4 separate regions of the Homo sapiens genome follow, and all the other regions are linked to region 4. Evidence: promoter capture Hi-C in 16 types of primary human blood cells and fetal thymus (Javierre and others, 2016). All regions are on one chromosome and are shown on one strand. Each heading gives the region's core, a stretch centred on a gene start or on the middle of the fragment in contact. The rest is flanking DNA. Distances are from core to core; before and after follow the strand shown. Region 1 overlaps LOC105369302 (a long non-coding RNA gene). Region 2 has its middle 240 kb from the start of USP25. Region 3 holds the start of HSPA13 (heat shock protein family A (Hsp70) member 13). Region 4 holds the start of ASMER1 (adipocyte associated metabolic related lncRNA 1).

Region 1 (2,700 bases), core at 56-2,555, 610 kb before region 4:
CTCCCCCTGTTGATTTCCTCCATGCTTGTTAAATTTGGGCAGAGATGAGGAACTAGGCAATGATTAGGATCATTCTCTCTGTTGTTTTCATGTTTCTATGAATTTTCCTAATTTTCAGCTGTTCTGTCAGGTTTGTCTTTAAACTTGGACACTTCAGGCTTTTTACCACCCAGGTTGCACATAATTGGAAAATTCAGTTAAAGAAAAAAAGAAAAGCATGTAGCTCACAAATTTGGATCCACGTTGCTCTAGCTCTAAGGAGCAGATTTCTCTCTGGTCTCTGCCTGCTTTTTCATAATGCTCCCCTCTGGTTTTCCAGCACATCAATAGTTTTGCCAAGGATTTTGGCAGTCTATGCTGTGAATTTGGGTATCACGGTTCCCCACACATTCATATAACTTCCTTCCTTTACTTGCTTCCTTAATTAAGCATCATAGAGTTTTATAACTGGAAAGTATCTTAGAAAGAATGTAGTCACCTCATTTTATATGGGAAGCACCAGGAGTCTCAAAAGGTAAAATGAATTGTCCAGGGTCACCGAGCCAGTTAATGGGTTGGATTCCTAATTCAGTCCTGATGAGTAGCTGTGATGCTGGCACCGGGAGCACTGTATGGTTCTAATGCAATTGGATTGTGCAAAAGATATGAAAGATACCATCCCAGTCCTCAGTACACTTGTATCTTTTTTAGAGAGATCAAATGTACACAAGAAAGCAAATCGTTAACAACTACAAAACCAACCTCACTTCTAGTTCAAAATAATATACTTACTAAACACAAACTTAAGAGTGATAAGGCTACGAGCTCAGGCAACCAACATAGAGTGCACTTGCCTTAGCACCCTAGGAAAGAAGACATTTTAATATATCAGAAATCCATGTAGTATTACTGTATTTCTTCAGACTACAAATGCATGATGCCAGTAAATGCATAATTCCTATGGCACTGGTAAGTGTCAGAAGGCTTCTGAAATTTTTCCACTTTGAAATTTTGGCAAATTAAATTTGTTTTAAGTGCTTGGCTTTCAGTGTCTCTCTCTAATATGAATCCACTACAAATCTCTTTTGATAGAATGTTGGGTTACATTTCCAGGCATATGAGATATAAGGACTAATTTTTAGGAACTTTCAGTTTCCTCTTCATCCCTGCATCTTTACATCTATTAATGGGAAAGGCATAACTTTATCTAGAGTATTCAGTGTATCATGCAAGCTCTTGTATGTGTATGAAGAATAGAAACTTTTTCTAATTATTTGTTCTATGTAGCCTTCTTTTTATAATGAAGTGACATAAGCATAAATTGTGGTTCTAAAACATGTGAATTGATGAATTAATCAAGAAGTGAATAAGTTAAATAATGATGATATAAATATTTAATTTTTGATTAATTTGTAGCATATAACATAATTTTATTTAATTCCAAGTTTATATTCAAGGCTAGTTGTTACTTTTACAGATATGTTCCCTTTAGTTTTTGTTTAAAGCCTTGGAATGGTTTATAATATGAATTGGGTGAAAGTAATAGCATATTATAAAAACAATCCCTTTCAAACTCTAGAAGCAATTAAAGCTGCATTCGTTAACCAATTTTTTTATCTGAATAAAAATCTTTCTGAATGAAGAATTTTATTTTGCAACACTCCTGCAAAATTCCTCCTTGTTTTTGGATAGACAGCAGGCAGGCAGCATTCTGTTGCCCTTGTCAAATGGTCAAATGTCTTTTGATTCACAGCAATGGAAGGAAACGACTTTACCACCTTCTTCCTCTGGAAAGAAGGGAAGGATGTTGAGGCTAGAAGCAGCGATGTATTGGGCTGATACACTGATTGAACCAAAAGCCTTGTTCAAAGTGTGATATTTTGGCAGGCAGAGAGTTGTAGGGAGTGTTACATAATGGGTTCTGCAAGTGGCCACAAACTTATTTAAGTAAACACTTACTGGAATTAATATTTATTGCCTGGGACATAAAGTGATTGCAAAATGCTTGCAAGAGCCTGAAATGATAAAGGCTTTCTGTATCCTGGGCCAGAAACTGGAAAAGAGAAGTTTGTTGATGGTGTTTATACCCAAATATTATTTGTAAGGATCAGAAAGCAACTATTATGGTTAAAAGTAATGTAGCTAAGATTTTTTTTTTCTTTTTTTTGCAGCGAGCAGTTAAAGTGAAAACAAGATCACGGAAAAGGAGATATATTTTGGTAGATCCAAGAATCTATGTTTGATAGAGTCTTCACAGAAAGAGTCGAAATTGACAACATGCTTATTGCTTTGGCTTTGGATGTTGGTTGGGAACATGGTTCTTGAATATCCACACTTCAAAGTAGATCTTACTTTTTGGAAGAGTAGAAAGCTCATTACGTTGGTTAATTTGAGAAGTAAGACAAGGGCTCAGAAAGGTACTAGTTATTAGTACCTTATACACTAGCCTGCCTGGCATTCTTACCATGACAGTGAATTGTCATGGTAAGAGTTGTGGTTTTAAACCTCTTTTCCCCAGATGTTACATGGAGTAATATATGTATCCACATACATATTAAAGTAGGAGGTAGATATTATATTGACTGGTGACTTGAGGACATGATACACAAAATAGGTAACGTTTGATGAAGCTTGAAATGAGCCAAGAAAGGACAAATCTGGATAACACACTGTAGCCTTGGTGATGAGAAAGGAGAAAGGAAAGATAATGAAGATGGGTAT
Region 2 (2,700 bases), core at 174-2,673, 570 kb before region 4:
CCCACACTTCCTGGAAACTCGCTTCTATTTCCTAGAGCCACCTCCCAAGTGAACTCCTGCACACAAGCCCTTACCTCCGGTGCTGCTTTGGGGAAACCACAACCTAAGGCAATGATACAGTGGCTGAAAACGTGTCTGGGACTGAGCAGAACATTGAGCTTCCACCAGGAAGCTTCTATTGCATGCAATGCAATGACAGAGCAAATTAAAAATAAATAAAGCTCCGAAGGGCAAGGGAGTTTTTGTTCAGAACTATAGCAAGTGGCACACTGTGGAAAAGGGAGGCATGCACAAAACTGGACCAGGTGTGTATGGTCTGTTTGAGTGGACAATGGTTCAGGCCCTGGATTCTCTTACACAGATGCCAACAAGAACAAAGGTAGTGCCTGAGAACACTGATAGAATATTTGATGTGTCCAAAAAGACACATCCTTGGAACAAAAATGATCTTCGCTGGTGTGCAGTAAAGAATTAATTTTGTCCAAAGAAAGATTTGGCCTTTTCCCTGGGCTCCTGGGAGGTAAATCTCTAAGACCTTGGAATGTCCTTGCCCTATATGAGTTTCTTTGTTTTCCGGGAGGCCTTGGGCCACACCAGATTGTCTGTGCTAACAATGGAACAACATGTTATTTATTCTTGGGCAACATGTTATCGTTTTGACCTCTGGAGGGACTGGAGACTATGATCAGCCGTGTGGTAAGTCATGTCAATGTGACCAATCCCCCATAAAACTCAGGACACTAAAACTTAGGTGAGCATCTCTAGTTGGTGAGACTCCATGTGTACTGTCACTCATCCTTTCTGGGAGAAATAGGCACAGTCTGCACCACTTCACTGGGCGAGGACAACTACAAGTTGCATGTTTTGTTGTCTCCCAGATCTGCCTTATGTGACTCTTCCTTCTATTAATTTTAATCTGTATTCTTTTGCTGTCATAACGTACAACTGTGAATATAAGTGAATATAATGACTTTTCTGAGTTTCTGTGAATACCTCTATCAAACTAGCAAGTACATGCATAATCTTGGAGTTTCCTGAATTTGCAGTTGGTATCAGAAGTGAGGATGGTCATGGGGACTACAGAACTTTTCAGCTTGAACTTATAAGGGAGAGAGTGCAAACTTGATAGCAGATCTCAAAACAAACAAACAAACAAAAAAACCGACTAATGAATAATAGTAAGCCACTGCTTTACTTATTACAAAAGACAAATGCCTGATAACTGTTTAAAAGCAGGTGCTATATTTCAATTAATCTGATAAACCAGAATTCAGATCATTAATGGCTGATAGAATATTCTTGTTGAACAGTCCTGATTTAAATAAAATTGGCTGGTCGTTAAATGAATGTGATCATACTTTTTGAATTTTGATAGTAATTCAGGTCCAGCAAATATTATCACAATTTCCTCTTCTAAAGGCATAATTGGAATTGAGGCTAACCTGGATTAGTTAGGTCCAACTTTTCACAAACCTGCTGATTGCCATCTCATAACTAGAGAAGATTGGTTTTCTATTTAGATTTATATAACTGGTTATATGAATATACTTTAATATGATAGTGAAATTCCTTCACTATCTTATAAAGTAGAGTAAGACTCAACTGTATTTGAATTTGTGTTTACCAGTCCATCTAAATGCAGAGGGTGAAGATTTGATTGCCATGCCCATTTTATTTTATTTTATTTTATTTTTTTATTTTATTTGGTATGTTCTATGTCAATTTCACAAAAATTTCTTGCATCTAAATTGTTGTTTTTTACATAGTTTATATATAATATCAAAAAATATTTAACACTTTTTACATTTTATAGATAATCTACAAGATCTGATGCTTTTAAAGGTCAAAATGACAAGAAGTAGTAGCAAGTTAGAATTCACTTTTGAATTGTTTACTATTACACTATGTTGTAATTCAGGCTTATGCTTACGTAGTTGTTAAAAAACAAATAAAATTGTAGAAATGCCATATATACATGATTAGTAATGAGGGTTTTACAAACTCATTAGAATGTAGAGATATACCATCAGCACAGACTTGTAAGTGATGTCATCATAAGGCTTTAGTTAATTTTTTTTTAATTTTTAAAAAACAAAAAAACATTCTTGGTGTGGTAGTTCCTAAGATGGCTTCCAATGAGCTCTGTTTCCTGATATTCACATCTTTGTTTGATTTCTTCCCACTGAGTGTGAGTTGGAGTTAATAACTTGCTTCTAAGCGATGCCACTTCAAGATGAGGTTGTAAAAGTCAGTGACTTCTATTTTGCTCACATTCTGGGGCTGTCTTGTTGGCTCATTCTGGAAGCCAGCTGCCATGTTCTGAGCCACCCCATGGAGAGCGCACAAGGGCAGCCTCCAGGCAACAGCCTGCAAGGAATTGAGGCCTTCACTCCAATAGCCAGCGAGGAACAGAATCCTGCCAACAACTATATGGGCTTGGAAGCGGATCCACTCTCAATAGAGCACTGGGGTGTCTGTGATTTTCTCCTAGTAAGCAACTCAGAGCCAGAGGACCCAGAGAAGCTACAAGGAATTGTGAAATAGTAAATGCTATTGTGTTAAGCCACTAAGTTTTGGAAGAATCTGTTATGCAGCAATAGATAATATATCTAGGCTTAAATCTCAGCTTCATTCCTTTGGAGTAGTATGATTGTTTATAGGTTATTTAAGCTTTTTATGCCTTCATTGAATTATTTGTAA
Region 3 (2,700 bases), core at 160-2,659, 540 kb after region 4:
CACTTTCTAATCTATGGAATAGATGATCTCTTGCTTCTGTGCTCTTGGTAATTGAGTTCCGTCTGCCTGGAACACCTCCAGCCCACTGCCCATTACAAGTAATACTTAAGAACTAAGTGCTTGAATTCTTCACTCCTTATAAGAATCTTATTGAACAGCACTCACTATAGACACACACTTTTTATATTTCGCATTATGAAATACTTAAAAATGCGCAAAAGTAGAGAGAACATTACAATGGATCCCTATCAACCAGAATTCAGCTTCCATAATCAAAATTCACATTGATAAGTCAGAAATAACCAGCAATGTATTCCCACAGCAGGCTGACGTGTTGTCAACAGGGATGGTTTGATTTATATCTAAGCTGAGAAAATGGATTCAATTCTCCAGGATCTTAGTTATCGTGAACTCTAACAGCAAAAATGACAAAACCACTCTCAGAGGAGTCATTAAGTGCTACCAGTGACCAAGATGCGAGAAAAATCCTACTTCAGACTAGAACCTGAACAGCATGTCACAAGCGTCCTAAAATGGCTGTCACGTTACAGGACTTGCCCATAAGGTCAATTTTGGCCACTTAAGACTTACTTGAAGAGAGAGCTAAGGGTTTTCTTTTTAATTTCGTTTTTGTTTTTGTTTTTAATGGCCCACGTCAGTGCTAGCAATAGAGAAAATGTGTCCCTGATCCCTTGGATAAATCGAATTGACTGAAGAATGCTTGAATTCATTTATCCCAAAACAAAGGCAGACGGCTGAGGGTCACTGGAGTTTCAGGGCTGCTCCCAGCGTTGGAGCACGGACGCCAGAGCCGACTTCCCTCAGGCCCCGCACTGCGGCAGGGACCCTTCTACGGAGGATGGCTGGGGCTCCGGGAGGCTATAGGAACGCCATCTAGAAGCTAGATCTCAGGCAAACGAACGCGCTTTAAAAGGAATTAAAACGAAAGAACACAAACTCGAATCCTGGACCTGATTAGGGGCACGACCAAAGAAAGAAATAACTAACGGTTCTCACCCTCCCTTTCATTCCCTCCCGCGGAAAGAGAAAGGCTGGAACTCCGCTTCCCAGAATGCAAAGCGCGGGGCGGGGCTAAAGAGATAGCCTGTTTTCCCTCAAGTAGGATCGCGGGACCACAGGTTTGATTATAAACGCCAGTCTCTCGCCACGGCGCTCCTCCCCCTCAGTCTCACTGGTCCTGCCGGCCGTTGCGTGGAAGGGGGACTCAGTCGTCACTGGCAGCGGTTGAATGGAGGCTCTTTGCCCCGCGCCCTCACGGTAGATGAAGTCCTTGCTTTGGTCAGAGCGATAGCTTCTCCGATTGCCTCAGAGCAAGCGGACTACATTTCCCAGGGGGCTGCGGGACTGCCGGGAGGAGTGGGGGCGGTGCCTCACGTCTGGTACAGTCATCACAAGCCTGTTCGGCGGGACTGTGATGGCCAGAGAGATGACGATCTTAGGTGGGTTCCCGGGGGTCCTTGTTGCTCTTGCGGGCGTAGAGGCGATCTGAGGATGCCAGAGTGGGCAGGGGTGGTTGACTCACCTCCTGGATCTAGCTGGAGCAGCGGAAGGGGAGTCAGAAAGGTGACTTAGAGACGGTTTTCGGCTGTTCGGAGTGGATGGGGGCGGGGACGCCTCTAGGAGGGCCCCGGCCCCTGCAGGCCAAGGTAGGATAGACGGCGACCAGCTGTGTCCATCCCAGGGACATCAGGCTTAGGGAGGCGTTCCTTTCAACAGCACCTAGGTTTTTGAATTGCCTGTTGAATTGGGGCAAGCTATGGAAGGCTGCGAGAACGTGCACCTCCAGGACCCCTTTGTGGAGGAAGGGGGAGGAGCTACATCCGGATCTGTCGGCTCAGGGATGCTGAATTTGGAGGCTTTTTCCATCACATCGGGTTTGGAATTACCTATCCCCCACCCACACACACACCCACCCCGCGTCTCCAAGGTGATGAAATGCTTCTGAAATGTTGCCTGTAGCTGGAAGTGGAAAGTGGGATTCGCACTTGGTTTTATTTCTTTGAGTTATGTGTTGATGAGGATGAGCTAACAATTAGTAACACAGAGCCCTGAAAATTCATGTTTTGGGTCATATGTAATATGAGCGGACACAGGTGTATAACACAGCCTCCTGATACCAAATACGAGATTCATTAAAAACTAAAGGGGCATCTTTCTTCGCTTATGTTTACAATCTGCGTGGCATTTGTTCCTACTCTTTTTTCTTTTTTTTTTAAATTAGTATTTGTTGGGCATCTGCTATTCCTGGTCTGGGGGATACAACAGTGAACGAAACTTGTCTTCAAGAAGCTTTCATAGATGTTGCCGTCAGGGTTGCCCACCTTTATGCTTCTTCTCCCCTAAATATTACCACTGCAAGAAGGAAGTCCCTAGTTCATACTTAAATACATAAAAAGTTAACTGTGTTCTGTTTTGAAGTGACAGTTTCATATCTAAGGAACTTTCAAAATCATTTTATCCCATTTATTCATTTCATCCTTTTGAAAGGGAAAAGGAGGTGAGATACGAGGAGAGAATTTTAGACTTATAAAATAATAAAGTTTTTCTTGTGAGAATTTTAATAATGGAGCTTTTAAAAAAAGATAATCGAAGCTTTTTATAAAGCTGTAAAATCTAAATATCAATTGATCAAGAATATTAGATTATATCTGGCTTTTGCTCCAGATAAATGTTGTTTCT
Region 4 (2,700 bases), core at 24-2,523:
TAAATAATATCTTTGTAACCCTGGGGTATGCAAAAATGTATTAGAATTAAAAACATTTCACCTGTCAAAGAATATTTGATTTTCAATAAAATTTAATTTCTGCTCATTAAAAGAAAGTGAACAGGCAATCGACAGACTTTGAAAATTCTCATCACTTATTTTTCATGAATAGGTCATATCCAGAATATATAAATAACTTTTACGAGTCAACAATAAAAAGATAAACAGCTCAGTAAAAAATGGGCCAAAGTCTGGAAAGACACTTAGCAAAAGAAAATTTGGGAATAAGATGTCCTACATAGGATGAGGCTAATGAACACCTGAAAAGCTATTCAACATCATAAGTCGTCAGAGAGATGCAATTTAGAATCATAATGAGTTAGCATTTCACACTCACTGGAATGGCTAAGACTGACAGCACCAAATATTGATGAGGATATGGAGAAAGATAAATACTAACAAGTCAGTAGAGTAAAATATTACAACGATTGTGGGGAAAGGTTTGCCACATTCTTAAAAGTTAAACATATTGTGTCTCAGGAATTCCACTCCTAGGTATTTATCCAGGTGATATGATCACATACGTCTACACAAAGTCTTATATGAGACTGTTCCAAGAACATCTGGAAACACTTAAATATCCATTTCCTAGAAAATGAGTAAGCAAATTGTGGTATATTTATACAGTTAAATATTACTCTGTAATGAAAAGGAATGAGCTAGTGATAACATGCAACAGTAAGAATGAGTCTTAAAAATATATATTGGCAAAAAAAAGCCAGATGTAAAGAATATATACAGTATATTATGTTCAAAGACAGGCAAAATTGTCTATGGCAATGGAAATCAGTACAGTGTGGTTTGACTGAAAAGGAGAAGGAGGAAAACTTCTGGAGTGATTGAAACGTTTTGTATCTTGTTTTGGGTGGTGCTACATCGGTGTATACAACCATCAACACTCACGCAGGGAACACTTAAAATGTGTGCATTTTATTGTAATTTTAAAATTACCCGATTCTAAAAACTGAAAAAAAAAAAGAGAAAGAAAAAACCAATCACAGCAATTTTCAGCATTTTGACTCCATATAAACTGTTATTTTGGAACACTTGGTTTTCATCTGATAAGTGTGTTTGAAAGCAATGCTATGGTAACGAGTGTAGGATTTACCAAGAGAATCTGTGGTAGGAGGAAAGGGTTAGGTCAGCAACACCTGTTTCTGGCACTCTTCTGACGAGACACCAGATTGCCTACTGGCTTCTTCCAGCTTTCCCGAGCACAGGGAGAGTGGCAGCAATACCAGGGAGCCTTATGCTTACAAGATGGACACCATATGTTTTCACTATCGCTTCGTAGCTGTTCTCATCTGTCCCTTTTCTTTGTCCTTTTAGTATCTGAGGTCCAGTAACCCTGAGAAATTTAATTTGAGAAGACACCATGAATGAAATATTAATATTTTAAAATCAAGTACAAAGAGAAGATTGCCTGTGAGTGGTTATTCTCTTCAGTTGTCCAATAGCTGTTATTTATCAAATTAACACCAAAACGTTCAAACTCTCTAAAAATGAATAGCTTTGCTTTATAAGGAGAGTTGTGAAAACTTATTAAGAACTCCTGCACATATTATTTAAAGATACCATTTACACGTGAGAGTAATTATAAATGAAATATATTAAATGTCCGAAAGTAGCACCATGTGGCAGAATTTTCAGGAAAAGAAATCGAATTAGTACTGGAAGAAGACATTCAAATAAGAGAACCACATTTTCAAGGTAAGATTGTGGTGGATTATTGAGCTGGGTTTTTGGTTCTTTAAATTGATGAGATTAGGATTTAATCACAAAATAATTTACTTATAACCTGAGATTTCAGACTTTAGCTGCTGAATATAAAATGTACACTTCTGACTTCCGTTTTTTCCATTTGTGTGATTTCAGGAAAATTTATCAGCAAAACTTGGTGCTTTTGGCCGGAGGCATCTGTTTTGCAATTTCTAATCCTGCAGCTATTTAAAATGCCTGGAGAGGAGGGTGGAAAGATTTGTGTGTGAAGGGTGACTTTAGGAAGGATGAGCAAAAGGGGTACCAAATTTGAGTACTGGTTCTGCAGTTTTGAGTGAGTTCTGGAATTTAATTCTAAATAAAGCCCAGAGCAACATTGTCTTTTTGAGTACATTTGTTTTTTCAAAGTGCCCCTTGTTTGTGAAACTAGTTTCTTCTCAGCCACTAAAAATTATTGCTTGCCTTTTGGGCCACACAGCATAGTAATAAAACAATGTAATTTACTTATGAGGAATAAGATGCACATGTATCTTTAATGCAGCATTCAATGCCTACAGTTTCAGAACCTCAGTGAAGGAGTGAAGAGCAATCTATCGGTTTTTCAATCTACTCCACCTTTGGTGTGGGAAATTCATTTCCCCCAAAGCCCTAGGAAATAGCTTCTCTCTCCTACCTGATACATAGAAATTATTTCTTTTTCTCATTATTTTATCATTTTACCCAATCTCCTACTCTCTCTTTCTGACTCCTACTTATTTTTTAGCCCACTCTCACTTTGAACTTTTTGATGAATGTGATTATAACTATTTATAATATTCAGCTTTGGATCAGTGTGTGCTTAGGTGGTTACAAAATATGCTGCACCCAAGAATAATTAGTAAAAAAAGATTAATGCCACATGAAAATAAATATTATTTGGAA

Evidence for each region. Contacts are between HindIII fragments. The CHiCAGO score rates a contact against its expected background, and 5 or more counts as called.
Region 1: a fragment that was not itself captured here is called in contact with the fragment with the promoter of ASMER1 in region 4 in 2 of 17 cell types (M2 macrophages and M1 macrophages); the score reaches 5.3 in M2 macrophages.
Region 2: a fragment that was not itself captured here is called in contact with the fragment with the promoter of ASMER1 in region 4 in 2 of 17 cell types (M1 macrophages and naive B cells); the score reaches 6.8 in M1 macrophages.
Region 3: the fragment with the promoter of HSPA13 here is called in contact with the fragment with the promoter of ASMER1 in region 4 in 2 of 17 cell types (M2 macrophages and M0 macrophages); the score reaches 7.6 in M2 macrophages.

The regions. Positions count from the first base shown.
Region 1 is chr21:15,526,174-15,528,873 of GRCh38, reverse strand. LOC105369302 (a long non-coding RNA gene) reads left to right here. Exons shown (of 3, transcript XR_001754972.2): 3 at 2,151-2,700. Among named protein-coding and RNA genes, the nearest start is that of USP25, 200 kb to the left of the region's middle. The HindIII fragment of the contact is 2,612 bases long and covers 1-2,611 here.
Region 2 is chr21:15,488,294-15,490,993 of GRCh38, reverse strand. It overlaps the pseudogene CYCSP42. Among named protein-coding and RNA genes, the nearest start is that of USP25, 240 kb to the left of the region's middle. RefSeq lists a silencer at 2,375-2,583. The HindIII fragment of the contact is 2,498 bases long and covers 175-2,672 here.
Region 3 is chr21:14,381,855-14,384,554 of GRCh38, reverse strand. It overlaps HSPA13 (heat shock protein family A (Hsp70) member 13), which reads left to right and starts at 1,409. Exons shown (of 5, transcript NM_006948.5): 1 at 1,409-1,460. The coding sequence starts at 1,436. It overlaps LOC105369304 (a long non-coding RNA gene), which reads right to left and starts at 1,789. Exons shown (of 2, transcript XR_007067924.1): 1 at 1-1,789. RefSeq lists enhancers at 873-1,002, 1,393-1,702. The HindIII fragment of the contact is 7,322 bases long and covers 1-2,312 here.
Region 4 is chr21:14,917,241-14,919,940 of GRCh38, reverse strand. ASMER1 (adipocyte associated metabolic related lncRNA 1) reads left to right here and starts at 1,273. Exons shown (of 4, transcript NR_146322.1): 1 at 1,273-1,770. The HindIII fragment of the contact is 3,530 bases long and covers 1-2,700 here.